2 separate regions of the Homo sapiens genome follow, and region 1 is linked to region 2. Evidence: promoter capture Hi-C in 16 types of primary human blood cells and fetal thymus (Javierre and others, 2016). All regions are on one chromosome and are shown on one strand. Each heading gives the region's core, a stretch centred on a gene start or on the middle of the fragment in contact. The rest is flanking DNA. Distances are from core to core; before and after follow the strand shown.

Region 1 (6,257 bases), core at 2,415-4,914, 2.2 Mb after region 2:
TTTTCGCGGGGAGGGGGGTGGGAGGTGTCAAAGTTTTCGGGGAACTTTTCCACTTGAGATTCCACGACCCTGCAGTGCCCCCTACAGAAAGCGGCAGCTGGGGAGGGCGGGCGCCCCCGACGACCCCCGACTGCCAGCGGCGGCGCGGCCAGGCTGCCTGGAGTTCTTGTTCCTTTTTTTTTTTTTTTTTTCCTTTTATTTCCTCGTGGTTGTTTGTCGGATACATCTTTTTCCAGAGTGGGAAAAAAAAAAAAAAAAGCGAGCGCCGCCGCCTGCAGTAGAGCGTGCTCGGCCTGCAGAGGCAGTCGTCTCCAACTTTTCCTCTCCCGCTCCAACTCCCCGCGCCCAAAACTTCAGTTCTTGGGGAGCCCAAATTTGCCTGCCGCGCAACTTCCACTCTAATTCAGCGACCAAGGGCCCTGGCAGCGGTTTGCAGCCTGGGGGCCACGCTCCCCAGGCTCAGGCCTGCTCGTTGGCCTGCTCCTAGTGCCTGGACCCAGTTGGGGGAGGCGAAACAGGGCGCCCGAGGAGCACCCCGGGAGAGGGCGGAGCACTCCCGTGCCCCGGGGCAGGAGTGCAGGGAGCTCCCGCGCCCGGAACGTTGCGAGCAAGGCTTGCGAGCGTCGCAGGGGGGCACTCGCGAGGGACGGACAGGAAGAGGGCCAGGGGGGAACGCCAGAACCCGGGACCACAGCACGGAAACGGTCCGGGGCTGAGCTGCAGTCAGATCCGGGGATGGAGGGAGCCGGAGAAGAGGAGTGAGAAGGCCGGGGAGGCAGGCCCTGCTGTCTTCCTGCAGGCCGGCAGCCTGCTGGCAGTGGAGGACCAGGCCGTCCAGGAAAGGAAGGGGTCAGGAGGTCGGGCAGGGCCTCAGCAGGTTCAGACAAGTCCCCAGAAGGGAGCTGCAGGCGCCCTCGAGTCCAGGCCCCAAGCCTGGCTCCGGTTGTCCAAAGAGGGCCTAGGCCAGGCCTCTGGTGCGGAAACTGAGTCACAGCCAGACCTCAGGGCACGGCCTAGACGCTTACGAGCCAAAGTTAGGGGTAGAGAGCAGAGACCTCCGGGGGGTCTCAGGGAGTAGGGGGCTTCAGGGCCTCCCAGTCTAGAGCCGGATTGGCGAGTTAGACGCTTGTAGATCCAAGGTTGGATTGGGGTGGGGTCTCTGGGACGTTGGATCGCTACGCAAGGATTGGGGGGATTCAAGTGCTTAGAGATCGAAGTCTGCCCTGGGTAGGGGGAGTCAGACAATTGGAAAGCCTAGGTAGTTATTTGGGGAGGGGTCTCTACGCCTTGGCGAAGCGCACAGCTGCATCTTTTTGGCTTGAGGCCTGAGGCCTTGTCGAGAAGCTTCCGTGAAAGGGTGGGCCAGCCGGGCCACGAGAAAGAAAGTGAATAAATCAGGAATATAAGTGGGCGGGGGGCCCCTGAGAGGGGGGTCGCAAAGGGTGAGACATGGCCACCAGGCGTTTAACCGACGCTTTCTTGTTGTTGCGGAATAATTCCATCCAAAACCGGCAGCTGTTAGCCGAGCAAGTGAGTAGTCACATCACCTCCAGCCCTCTGCATTCACGTAGCATTGCTGCGGTGAGTCTCCTGGCGGCCTCTCCGACACACGGACCGTGTGCACTGCGGCTCTGCCTGTTTGTCTGTCTCTGTCTGTCTCTCTGTTTAAAAAGAGAAGATAAGAATAATAAGACTAAGAATAATAAGATCTCTTGGCTAGAGTCAGGGGGCATCTGTAGCCCTGGATGAGGAAGAAGCGGTGCTGTGAGGCCGCAGCTCCACCTCTGCCCGGTCTTCTCCTCACTTCCGCAGCACCCCCCCCCCCGCACCCCCCGCCTTGGCGTCACTGCGCTACAGGCCGCCTGTAATTTACATATGTTTTAACGCTAACATTGGGAAGCATTGGGCCTTTCTGAAGCCTTTTTGTTTCGTTTTGTTTGAAGCTCCCCTCCCCCCAGTAATGAGCCTCAGTTTGGTCCTAAGGGCTGGGTCGCCGGATCGTAGACCCAAATCCTTGCAAAATGAACGACTCCCTCCCCTCAAAGAGGAGGGAGTTGTGTTGTTGTTTTGTTTTGTTTTGTTTTTCCGCCCGTTTTCTTTTAACGGCCCCGCAGCCCTCTGTGTGGCCTTGTTCCCTGTGAATAATTGCCTCACTGTTCTTCCTGGGGGCTTGCGTTTGTGAGACTCAAGGTGCTAGCCTCTTCACTTTCCATTTCCCAGACAGGAAATTAAGCTTTCCTCTCCATTCGAACTTTTTAAAAAAAGCCTGAGGAGGTATATGTGAAAATTAACCCCGTAAAATAGCACTTTTTTTTTTTAATTAACCACAACCTTTAGTTAGCCTAGCAGTAGCGTTTTTTAAGGGTGGTCCTGGAAAAATTACTGTTTGGGGTTTGTTTTTAATGGGGGCTACTTTTCCCTTTCTGAGCCTCAGTTTACTGCTCTGTTAAATAAGGGGCGAGTCTGGATGATCTATACCAGACAGTGATCGTTAGCTCTGTAATGTCTTCAATTGAAAAGTGAAGTTATGAAACTGGCTGTAGTTCAGGCTACCTGCTGTAGGCAGACTAGGTTGGAATAGAAGCAGCGTTGGAACAGGCGGGAAATAGCCATCCCAGGACCACATTCTTGGGGGTTATACTTGATATTAGGCAATTTTGGAACATTCATTTCACCTCTTAGGGACTGTATTGCCAGTTTATTTTTTTCTTTATGGCTTTATCTAAATGCTTCAGGAAAATTTTGCCATATGTCATGATTATCATGTCTACAAAGACAGTTTCTCCTTTTTGTAAGTCACAGGTGGAGAATGTCTTTGGCCATATAACTGATAGAAAAGTCATTTTAAGCCGTGTGAGCGGTTTCAGGAATAAAAGCATGTAAACTCAGGTCAAACAGCCTAGAACTAGGGACAGAGTGTGTGTGAGATTTCAGTTAATTAAGAAGTTGAAGGGTTTTTTTTACATTTATAAACGGAAAGGAATTACATTATATTGAAATAAATGTAAAGATGTCTGGTAGCATAGAAACAGGCTAATTCTAGCGCTAATTTTGAAGAAGAAATAATCCAAGAAATCGAGTAGAAATTGGATGAATTCAATTCCTTAATGGAACTTCAGTAATGTTAAATAAGAACTGCATGTTCCTTAAATGACTTGATTTTGTGCTGCCTCAAAAACTACTGAAACTCATATTAAGATTTCTAAGGTATCAGTTTTAATTGAAAAACATATTGTTTATTTTTCAATTTTTAATCATTAAGGTTCAAAATACCCTGAACCTTTGGGTAACATGAGGGTTTTTTTTTTTTTCCCGATTAAGTCAGACAGTTTAAAAACCTAGTATCTGAGACGGGAAGCTTTTTAAAAGTGCATCTCTGAATCAGACCACTTTAGAAAATTATTTTCTAAGTTAGGCAATTTTAAAAAATATTTAAGCTAAGCAGAATAATTAAAAATGGATAGTTAACGTATACAGTTTGGAAAAATAGATATGTCAGGGTATATACAGATACATTTAGCTAACTCACAGTTTTTTGAAAATAGATTTCTAAACCCAACTAAAAATACATTTCTAAGAACGTTAAAAAATGTTTTCTAAATGTCATACCATTGAAAATGTTAATATTTATATTAGTCTGACCATTTAAAATCTTTCTCAGATCATTGAAAGCAGTCATATCATTTAAAATATCCTTATAGTCAATCCATACTATCTCAAAAATAGGTTTTGCAGTCTAACAAACATAGTTTGCCTGAATTCAAATTTAAAAATAAAACACAGATTTATATATTTTAATTGTGTTAAAAAATGGCATGTCATAAATTTCTGAAGTATTTAGGGTTGAAGTGTTACATCTTCACTTTGCTTACAGGTGATTCGTAACAAAATCTATTCTGCACACAGTACGGCGAAATGCTAACAAGACTAAATAGAGGTTATGATTTTTTCAACTTTTCTGGAAGTTGGAAAAGCTTTATAAACATTTTGAAGCAAAAGCCATGTTTAACACAATTTGTAAAATCTATTGAGTAACTCTTAGCAATGCTTTTCACTGCATATCTAGCTCACAAAAAATTTAAAGCCTTGTTTCTGACTTGTAAATTTCAAAGCCATGTAGCAAACCAAACAAAATCGTATCTGTCAAATTTTGAATATGGACTAGGTATTAGGTGACATTAAGGAATTAATTATAATACATTACATTTGCTAATTTTATTAGAGATGCCTACTGAAATGTTTAGTGGTGAAATGTCAAGGCATCTTACCTAAGTCCTTAAACCCCTCCAAAAATAGAGGAAGCAAATAAGGCAAATTGTTACTCATTGTTAAGTCTAGTGATGAGTATGTGTGCGACATTTTACCATTTTGTAGGCTTTTCTGCATGTTTGAAAATTTTTAAATAGAAACTTAAAGTAAGTATATTTGTTATAGTAAAGTAAAACAGTTAAAAAGAGGCAATTTGTAAATACATGTCTAACACTCAGGCAATTTGAAAGGAAGAAATTAAACCTAAGTTTAACTTAATTTAAAAAATAATAACCTGGAATTTTAAGTTTCCAATTAGAAGAAAAAGCTGTAGACTTTGATCTTGATGCATTTGATACCAACTAAAAATACACCTAAAATAACAGACTTTTTAAAAAAAAAATTGTAATCCTGAATTTTGACATCTTATTTCAGGAAAAAGCTGCAGAAATTAATTGCAGAGTAGTGTGTATCATACACCTCAAAGCAAAGCACACCTAAAGCCATGCCATTCAAAAAATTTAAACATGCATTTTTTGCATCCTAGTTTGAGGGAAAAAACTAGAATTTGGTTGTTGTAGTGGGGTTATTGTGTGTCCCTGTGCGTGCATACAGGGTTTTGCAGCATTCAGGCAAATATGTCAAATAAACAGGAATTTAAGGAGGATACGCAGTGACCAGATAAACACAAAGCCTCAAGGGCCAGAAGGAACCTAAAGGTCATTTGGCCTAATGTCCCCATTTGTGATAACCCCTCATGCCTATCTTATTTGGCCATGGTGTATGACAATGATGGAAAATGCCAGCAGCTCCATGATTTTTACCACTAAAAAGTCTTTGCCTGTTAATCCCAACTATTTGTGTCCTGGGGTCCTGCTTTTAGTTCTGTTCCTTCGGGTCTTCCTTCTGTCTGGTAACCCTGCAGCCTTGTTACCCAGAATTCTTTCCAGGCCTAGCATTCCCGGCTCAGAGTGGTTATGCTTTTTTCCTATAAATGATGTTTAGTTTTTCTGTATCCTTTTTAGATTTCAGCATCCAGAACTGAGCAAAATTCTACTTTTTTGTGTTCTTAGTTGTATTAAAGTTAGTAAAACTAATTGTAAAAAAACAGACAGGTTTGACTTTATGCACTCCTAACAAAATACAGTCGTATTTCCCATGCATTTTACTTTGGCCTCAGTTTTGAGTGCCCCATCACGTTCATGCCTCAGGGCAGCATGAAATAAAGGAAAGAGCACTGAGAATTGAATCTGAGAATTGAGGCCTAAGTCCTGTTCTGCTGCAGGCTCAGAGTGTGTCCTTAGGCAAGCCTTTAATCTTTTCGGACATTTTTTGCCTCATTTGTAAACTGAGGGGTTTGGGTTAGGTGATTTCCAGCAGCCCTATCGATTCAACAGTATTTTCTCAAGTTCTGTTTTAATACATTGTTTCTCCTGACTTTAGCTTTAATTTGAAAAGGAGAAATTCATAGTCAACAGTGTTGTAGCTGTCAGTCCAAGGTTACTGACAGAAATCCTTAGAAGTAGCCCCAGTACTGTGCAAAAGTAACTTTCACATTATTATGCCAGCCAAGTGCAGGTTTTAAGGTAGCAACTCATTCAAGCAGCTTGGCTTTAGGAAACTGAAATGGATTTATGAAGCTAAACAATTATTCAAAACAAATTGTAAAGTCATAAAGAAATGAATGAAAGGTAGATATTGAGATGCTCTTCTGATCTGATGAAATTCTGTATGGATTTGTGTGGTTTCCTTCGATCTCCGGGAATGGATCTAATATAGGGGTTGGAGCTACTTTGTTAGTGTTTACTGCCTAATCTATACTCTGCTTTAAAATAATGCATAATCTATAATTGGAAGCTAGCGTTAATTGGTCTTAGATTAGTTTGAAACATAAGCACATTATTTTTAATAAAATGTGTGCTTTAGGAAAAAGGAAATTAAGGATTAACTATGGTTATAAGAAACCTGAGGTCCTTATTCAGGCTTGACTACAATATTAGCTAAGATTT
Region 2 (6,534 bases), core at 2,597-5,096:
TTTGTGCTGCATCATCCCAAGGTGGAAGGTGGAAGGACAAGAGAGCAAGAGAGGGCCGAACTCAATGTTATAACAAGTCCACTGTCTCGATCACTAACTCACTCCCAAGATAACAACATGAATCCAGTCATGAGAGCAGAGCCCTCATGACCTAATCACCTCTTATTAGGCCCCAGCTCCCAACACTGTTGCATTGGGATTAGATTTCCAACACATGAAATTTGGGGGACACACTCAAACCATAGCAGACAGTTTAAAAAATGTTTAATGCCAACTCTTAAAATGAGTTATGGTAAGCTGCAGCTACGGAAGAGCATATGAGCAGAGCTACCAGGAAATCAAACCTGCCATGGCTCAGAAGTCTGAAATGGGCCGGGGGCAGTGGCTCACGCCTGAAATCCCAGCACTTTGGGAGGCCAAGGCGGGTGGATCACAAGGTCAGGAGTTCGAGACCAGCCTGGCCAACATGGTGAAACGCCGTCTCTACTAAAAATACAAAAAATTACCTGGGCGTGGTGGTGTGCGCCTGTAATCCCACCACTTTGGGAGGCCAAGGAGGGCGGACCATGAGGTGAGGAGTTCGAGACCAGCCTGACCAACATGGTGAAACCCCATCTCTATTAAAAATACAAAAACTTAGCCGGGCATGGTGGCATGTGCCTGTAATTGCAGCTACTCAGGAGGCTGAGGCAGGAGAATCGCTTGAACATGGGAGATGGAGGTTGCAGTGAGCCCAGATTGCACCACTGCACTCTAGCCTGGGCAACAGGGTGAGGCTCCATCTCAAAAATAAAAAAATTATATAAAAAAAAGAAGTCTGAAATATTTGAGACCTACTGTAAGGACTTACTATAACAGCATTTAAAGTACTGGTTCTTAGCCTGAGGTTCAGAAGGCTGTGAGTAAAATACAAACATGTATACGCTATGTGAAATGTCGTTATGTGCTAATCAATACTTTTCTGGAGATTTAGTTCAAAGTTTTCATCAAATTCTCAAACAGGTCCAATGACTCCCAAAAGGTTAAGAAATACTGGTTTTACTAGAGGGTAATGATTTTCCTTTTTATCATTTCATTCCTCTGCTTCCCCAAAAATCCATGGCTTGGCTAGGACAAAGTTGTCTCCGAAGATGCTTGTAAGGGAATAACCTTTATTAGTTCATTCAACAAGGCAGTGGAAGAAGAAGCAGACAATGATGACATCTGCTTCCCAGTAGAGCCGGGAGAATAAAACGGCTCAAGTCCAATAAAGCGCTGAACACAGCACCTGACATGGCAGCCAGCTCTCAACACATATTTGCTACCAATGATAATAAACCTCACAAAAGTTCTAGCTGCGTATAGTCTGAGGCACAGAGTAGCCTAGAGACCAATATTCTAAAAGAGGAAACCAATGAGGAAGAGAAAAAAGTCCAGCTGCCTGAGCTAGAACACCAGCACAGCCGGTACTGCTGGGTTTTATCAGCAGCATTTGGGGAAGCAGTTAAGTCAGACGGGCCTCATCGGAGACAGCCCCTCATCTTATACTCCTTTTACTCAGCAGCTATGAGACTCTGAACAAAGACAACTTGCACATCTGAGTCTTGGGGTTTTCATTTGTAAAACAAGAGGGATTATACCTTCTAACTCTTAAGGTTATTGTGAGCCCAAAGTGAAAAAATGCCTACAAATCTCTCAGTGCACGCATGGTCATGGCTTAATAAAGAGCCGCTATTTTTGTTTTTTCTTCCCCAAATGAGAAAAGAACACTGGTTTGAGTCTTTCTAAAGATGCTGGTGTTTCTGCTCTTCTGTATTTGACTTTCTTTCCTTTGCTGTGAGAAAGAACTAATCCTAGCACTCATTCCCGGGTCTCTCACTGCCTATGTGACCTTGAAGGAGTCATTTGATCTTTCCACGCTTCTGTTTCCTCACCAGTAAATGGAATTCTAATAGTACTAACCAGTTTTAGTATCTGCCAAAACTAGGCTTTTCACCCCTTTCTCAATGAATCTGTACTTTCTTTTGGTTTACTGAGGAAATGTACTCATATATTGAGTGTGCCAAAGACTCTTCTAGGCACTGATGATACAATGTGGAATAAAAGTCCTGGCCGGGCTTGGTGGCTCACGGCTGTAATCCCAGCACTTTGGGAGGCCGAGGCAGGTGGATCACCTGAGATCAGGAGTTTGAGACCAGCCTGGCCATCACGGTGAAGCCCCGTCTCTACTAAAAATACAAAAATTAGCCCAGCATGGTGGCGGGCGCCTGTAATCTCAGCGACTGGGGAGGCTGAAGCAGGAGAATCGCTTTGATCCTGGGAGGTTGAGGTTGCAGTGAGCCGAGATCACATCACTGCACTCCAGTCTGGGCAACAGATCGAGACTCTGTCTAAAACAAAACAAAACAAAATGAAGTCCCTACCCTCATAGAGCTTACAGTTATTGTGGTTAGCATAGAAATAAATCATAAATCAATCAGAGACCAACTAATTAAAGGGATTATTTTTTAAAATTCTCATTAATCACAGTAACAAGTACCCCAAGCTTACATATAGCCCTTGAAGTTTCCACATCCACGTATTTTCTGGGCAACTCTTCCCAAGTAAAAAATATTTTCAGCGTTTTTATGTTTCACGTAGGTCAATAGGGTAATATCCAATCATAAAGATCTGCCTTCTTGGCAATGGAGAAATTTTCCCATCATATATATGTACAAATACATACATACATACATACATACATATTAATGACAGAGTCTTGCTCTGTTGCCTAGGCTGGAGTGCAGTGGCATAATCATAAGCTCACTGCAACCTTGAATTCCTGGGCTCAGGCAATCCTTCCTACCCCCTCAGCCTCCGGAGCCGCTAGGACTACAAAAGCTTACCACAACGCCTGGCTAATTTTTCTTTTTCTTTCAAGATGGTGTCTCACCATGTTGTCCAGGCTGACCTGGAACTCCTGGGCTCAGGTGCTCCTCCCGTCTCGGCCTCCCAAAGTGCTGGGATTATAGGCACTTTCCCATAATATTTATAATAATTAAAGGAACAAACAGAGAGATAGACAATCGCCTAAGAGCAGACAGACAATCATGAATTTTTAGCAAGGGATTTGTGTTCTTATAGATAAAATACAGCCTGACTCTTGGAACGGGCATGGCAACATCAGTGTATATTTTATAAGAACTATTATATCGTCTATTAATGATACTTGATTGTTAATAAAATTTTTTTAGCCTGGGCTTCAGGAAACTGTGAATGAAATACACACACGCACAAACTGTATGCAAAATTTCACACACATGCCATCTACAATATGCATGGCAACACCAGAAAGTTCCAGGCCTTAAGGGAGGGTCTTACTTCCTAGAATCTGTTGTAACATCACTTCACAAGATTTGTTGTGAGTGCTTGAGTCACAGTTGGCGCTCAAGAAAGATGCGTTCTCCTTTTAAACACAAAAATGTCCATTGATACAGCAGATTCCGTTCATAGGCATCCTTAATCGCAGAAACAGGAGGGCGGCCCTTTTCCTCAAGGCGCTCTCAGTCCAGGGATGTGCCCGCTCCGCAGCCACACAAGCTGGCGTGGGATAGGGTCAAAGAGCGGTGGATGCGCACGGGCCGCCCACGCCCTCGCTGCCCTCCCGGAGCGTGGGCGAGTGATTCCGATTGTGCAGCAGAAACCCAGGGTCTCACGGGAACGAGGAAACCCGCCCACGCCCAGCCTCCAAGCGACGCTCTCCATGACAACCGGCACTTGGTAACGGCCTCGCCCTGCCCCGCTACGCCGCGCCTAGCGTGCCGCCCCGCCCCGCCCCGCTACGCCACGACCAGCGTGCTGCGTCACGGCGGTGCGCCGGAAGTGGCTGCGGATTTCGCCGGAAATCCCGGAAGTGACAGCTTTGGGGGTTTGCTGCTGGCTCTGACTCCCGTCCTGCGATGGGTTGCGACGGGGGAACAATCCCCAAGAGGCATGAACTGGTGAAGGGGCCGAAGAAGGTTGAGAAGGTCAGTGATGTGGGCCGGCTCTTGGCGACCGGGGGTGGTGGGAATTTGACGACCCCAGAAAACGAGAGGAAGTAAGAAGGGGGAGCCAGCGGAGTTCCAGACCTGGCTGCGGTCTTTTATTCCATTCAGAGGACTCAAAATTAACAACAGTATTAAGAGTGGACATTCAATGGGTGCTGACTATTGCCATTCACTGGACAGTAATCTTAACAGGGGGTATCTCATGTAATTATCACAATAGCCCTATAGCTACATACTGTTGTCCTCATTTTCAGACATGGAAGTTGAGGCTCAAAAGGAGAAATTTGCAAAGCTAGTAAATGGCAGAGCCAGGATTTGAACCCTACCTGCGACTAGTAGCAATAATACAAATACCTAGTGTATACTGAGTTTTGTATACACTAACTTCATTTGCTCAGAGAAGCCTTCCCAAACTGTTCCCTTACCACATCCTTTTATAAACTGTCTTAGCCTGCACACGGCTGTACGTGGTTGATTTGTATCAAGTCTTCCCCGCTAGACGGTAAGTTCCTGATAGCAGAGGCTGTACCCTTTTTTTCTCTGCAACTAGCATGGTTCCTGGCACACTAAATATTTCGAATAAACAAATGAGTGAATAATCCCTGATCTCACAAGTAATCGAGGAAATTATAATAATTTCTTTGCTACTGACGGGGACATTGAGTCCAGGGATATTAAGGTGACTAAGATCACACAGCTGGTAGGTAGTGAAGCCAGGATTCCCATCCACTTATTTGGGATTTCAAAGTTAGCACAAGTAATTACTTTTTAATGATAAAATATTTGTAAAGCACCTAGTAGAGACTTCTTTACAAAAATATTTGTAAAGCACACGTGGAGACTTCATGTATTCTGATTCAGGAGCTGGAGAGCTTGTTTAAAAGGTAAACCCCTTAAGTCACTATTGTATTTGAAGCATTCCAGTGGCTTCCCATCACATTAAGAATAAAATCTCGTCAGACCCTTGAGCAGACCTTGCCTATGTTTCTGACCTCATCTTCTGCCCCTCTCCACCTCTTTCATACTGTTCTAGCTAAACAGGCCTCTTGTTCTTCAACCTGGAGTGTGAGTTCATCAATCTGAAATACTCTTCACTGAGATTGTCACATGATGAGTTTCTTTACTTCATTCAGTTTTTTACTCAAATGTCATCTGTCCACTGTAACTGAAATGTGCCTCACTTCCAATATTCTCTCTTCTCTTCTTAACAGTGCCTACCACTGTGTTGTTTATTGTCTCTTTCCCACGTAGACAGGAACCTTGTGTGTCTTACCTCTGTAACCCCTACCATGTGTCAGCCACATAATAGACACCTAATAAGTATGTGTGAATATGGGAATGAATGAATACCCAAGAGGATGAAGTGTACCCTCTGATCATACGTACATGTAAACAGGCGAATGCTGGATAATTAGCATTCATGAGTGGTTTTTTGGCTTTCACCAAAAAAGTGTTTAGCTCAGTTTTGTTTTCTTGTGCCCAGGGCTGAAAAGGAGTAGCTTAATGAAAGGCTTGACAAGAAACAGGTGTCGGAAGAGGGTAGAAAAGAAGGAAGAGCGATTCAAAAAAGCCAGAATGCCTAGGCAGGATGGATTTTTATTATAACTATTCACACAACAAATGCTTAATAAGTGGTTACCATATATACATTGTTGTAGGCCCCAGGGATATAGCAGTGAACAAGGCAGAGTCTAGCCCTGGTGGAGCTTACATTTCGGATCAATATTGTGAAATCTGCCCTGGTTCCTAACGCAGAGCACCTAAATTCCTTGTAATTTCCTGGGTGACGGGATCATCTTTTGTTCTAATAAGGCAATTATTGGTGGGCTCCTGGATGGGGCCTGGTCACCAGAAACACCAAGCCAAGATTAGAAGCCTGGAACTTTCAGCCCCACCTCACCCCCATCCTTCAGGGAGGAGAAGAGGAATTGGACATGGAGTTAATAATCCATCATGCCTACGTGGTGGGGTCTCCATAAAGATCCCTGAAGTTGAGGGTTTGGAGATTTTCTGGGTTGCCGACAACATCCACATGCCAGGAGAGTTACCCCAACTCCATGAGGACAGCCCTGCACTTGGGACCCTTCCAGATTACTTCTTTATCTGGCTATTTATTTGTATCCTTTAAAATGTATTTGTAATAAATCAGCAATGGTAACTAAACTCTTTCCCCATATCTGTGAGACACTAGCAAATCATCAAACTGGGCGGGGGGATCGTGGTAGCCTTTGATTTATAGACAGTCAGAAGTGCAGGTGACAACTTGAACTTGTGATTGGCATCTAAAGTCGGGGTAGGGACAGTATTATGGGACTGAGCCCTTAACCTTTGGGATCTGAGGCCATATCCAAATAGGTGGTATCAGAATTGAGTTTAATTGTAAGACACCTGGCTGCTATCAGAGAATTGGTTGGTGTGGGGAAAATCCCATACATTTTGTCCGAAGTGTTCTGGAAGTATTGAGTGTTGTGAGTGAAAGTATAGAAAAAACACTTGTCTGGCCAGGCGCGGTGGCTCACGCCTGTAA

Evidence for each region. The method cuts DNA at HindIII sites, captures the fragments that hold promoters and counts their contacts. A CHiCAGO score of 5 or more calls a contact.
Region 1: a contact is called between a fragment that was not itself captured here and the fragment with the promoter of RTF2 in region 2, in 1 of 17 cell types (total B cells). The highest score is 7.8, in total B cells.

What each region holds. Positions count from the first base shown.
Region 1 is chr20:58,650,558-58,656,814 of GRCh38, forward strand. STX16 (syntaxin 16) reads left to right here and starts at 726. Exons shown (of 9, transcript NM_001001433.3): 1 at 726-1,581. The coding sequence starts at 1,450. It overlaps STX16-NPEPL1 (STX16-NPEPL1 readthrough (NMD candidate)), which reads left to right and starts at 696. Exons shown (of 23, transcript NR_037945.1): 1 at 696-1,581. RefSeq lists enhancers at 1,485-1,754, 1,592-2,095. The HindIII fragment of the contact is 616 bases long and covers 3,357-3,972 here.
Region 2 is chr20:56,464,781-56,471,314 of GRCh38, forward strand. It overlaps RTF2 (replication termination factor 2), which reads left to right and starts at 3,847. Exons shown (of 9, transcript NM_016407.5): 1 at 3,847-3,986. The coding sequence starts at 3,918. The HindIII fragment of the contact is 9,363 bases long and covers 2,858-6,534 here.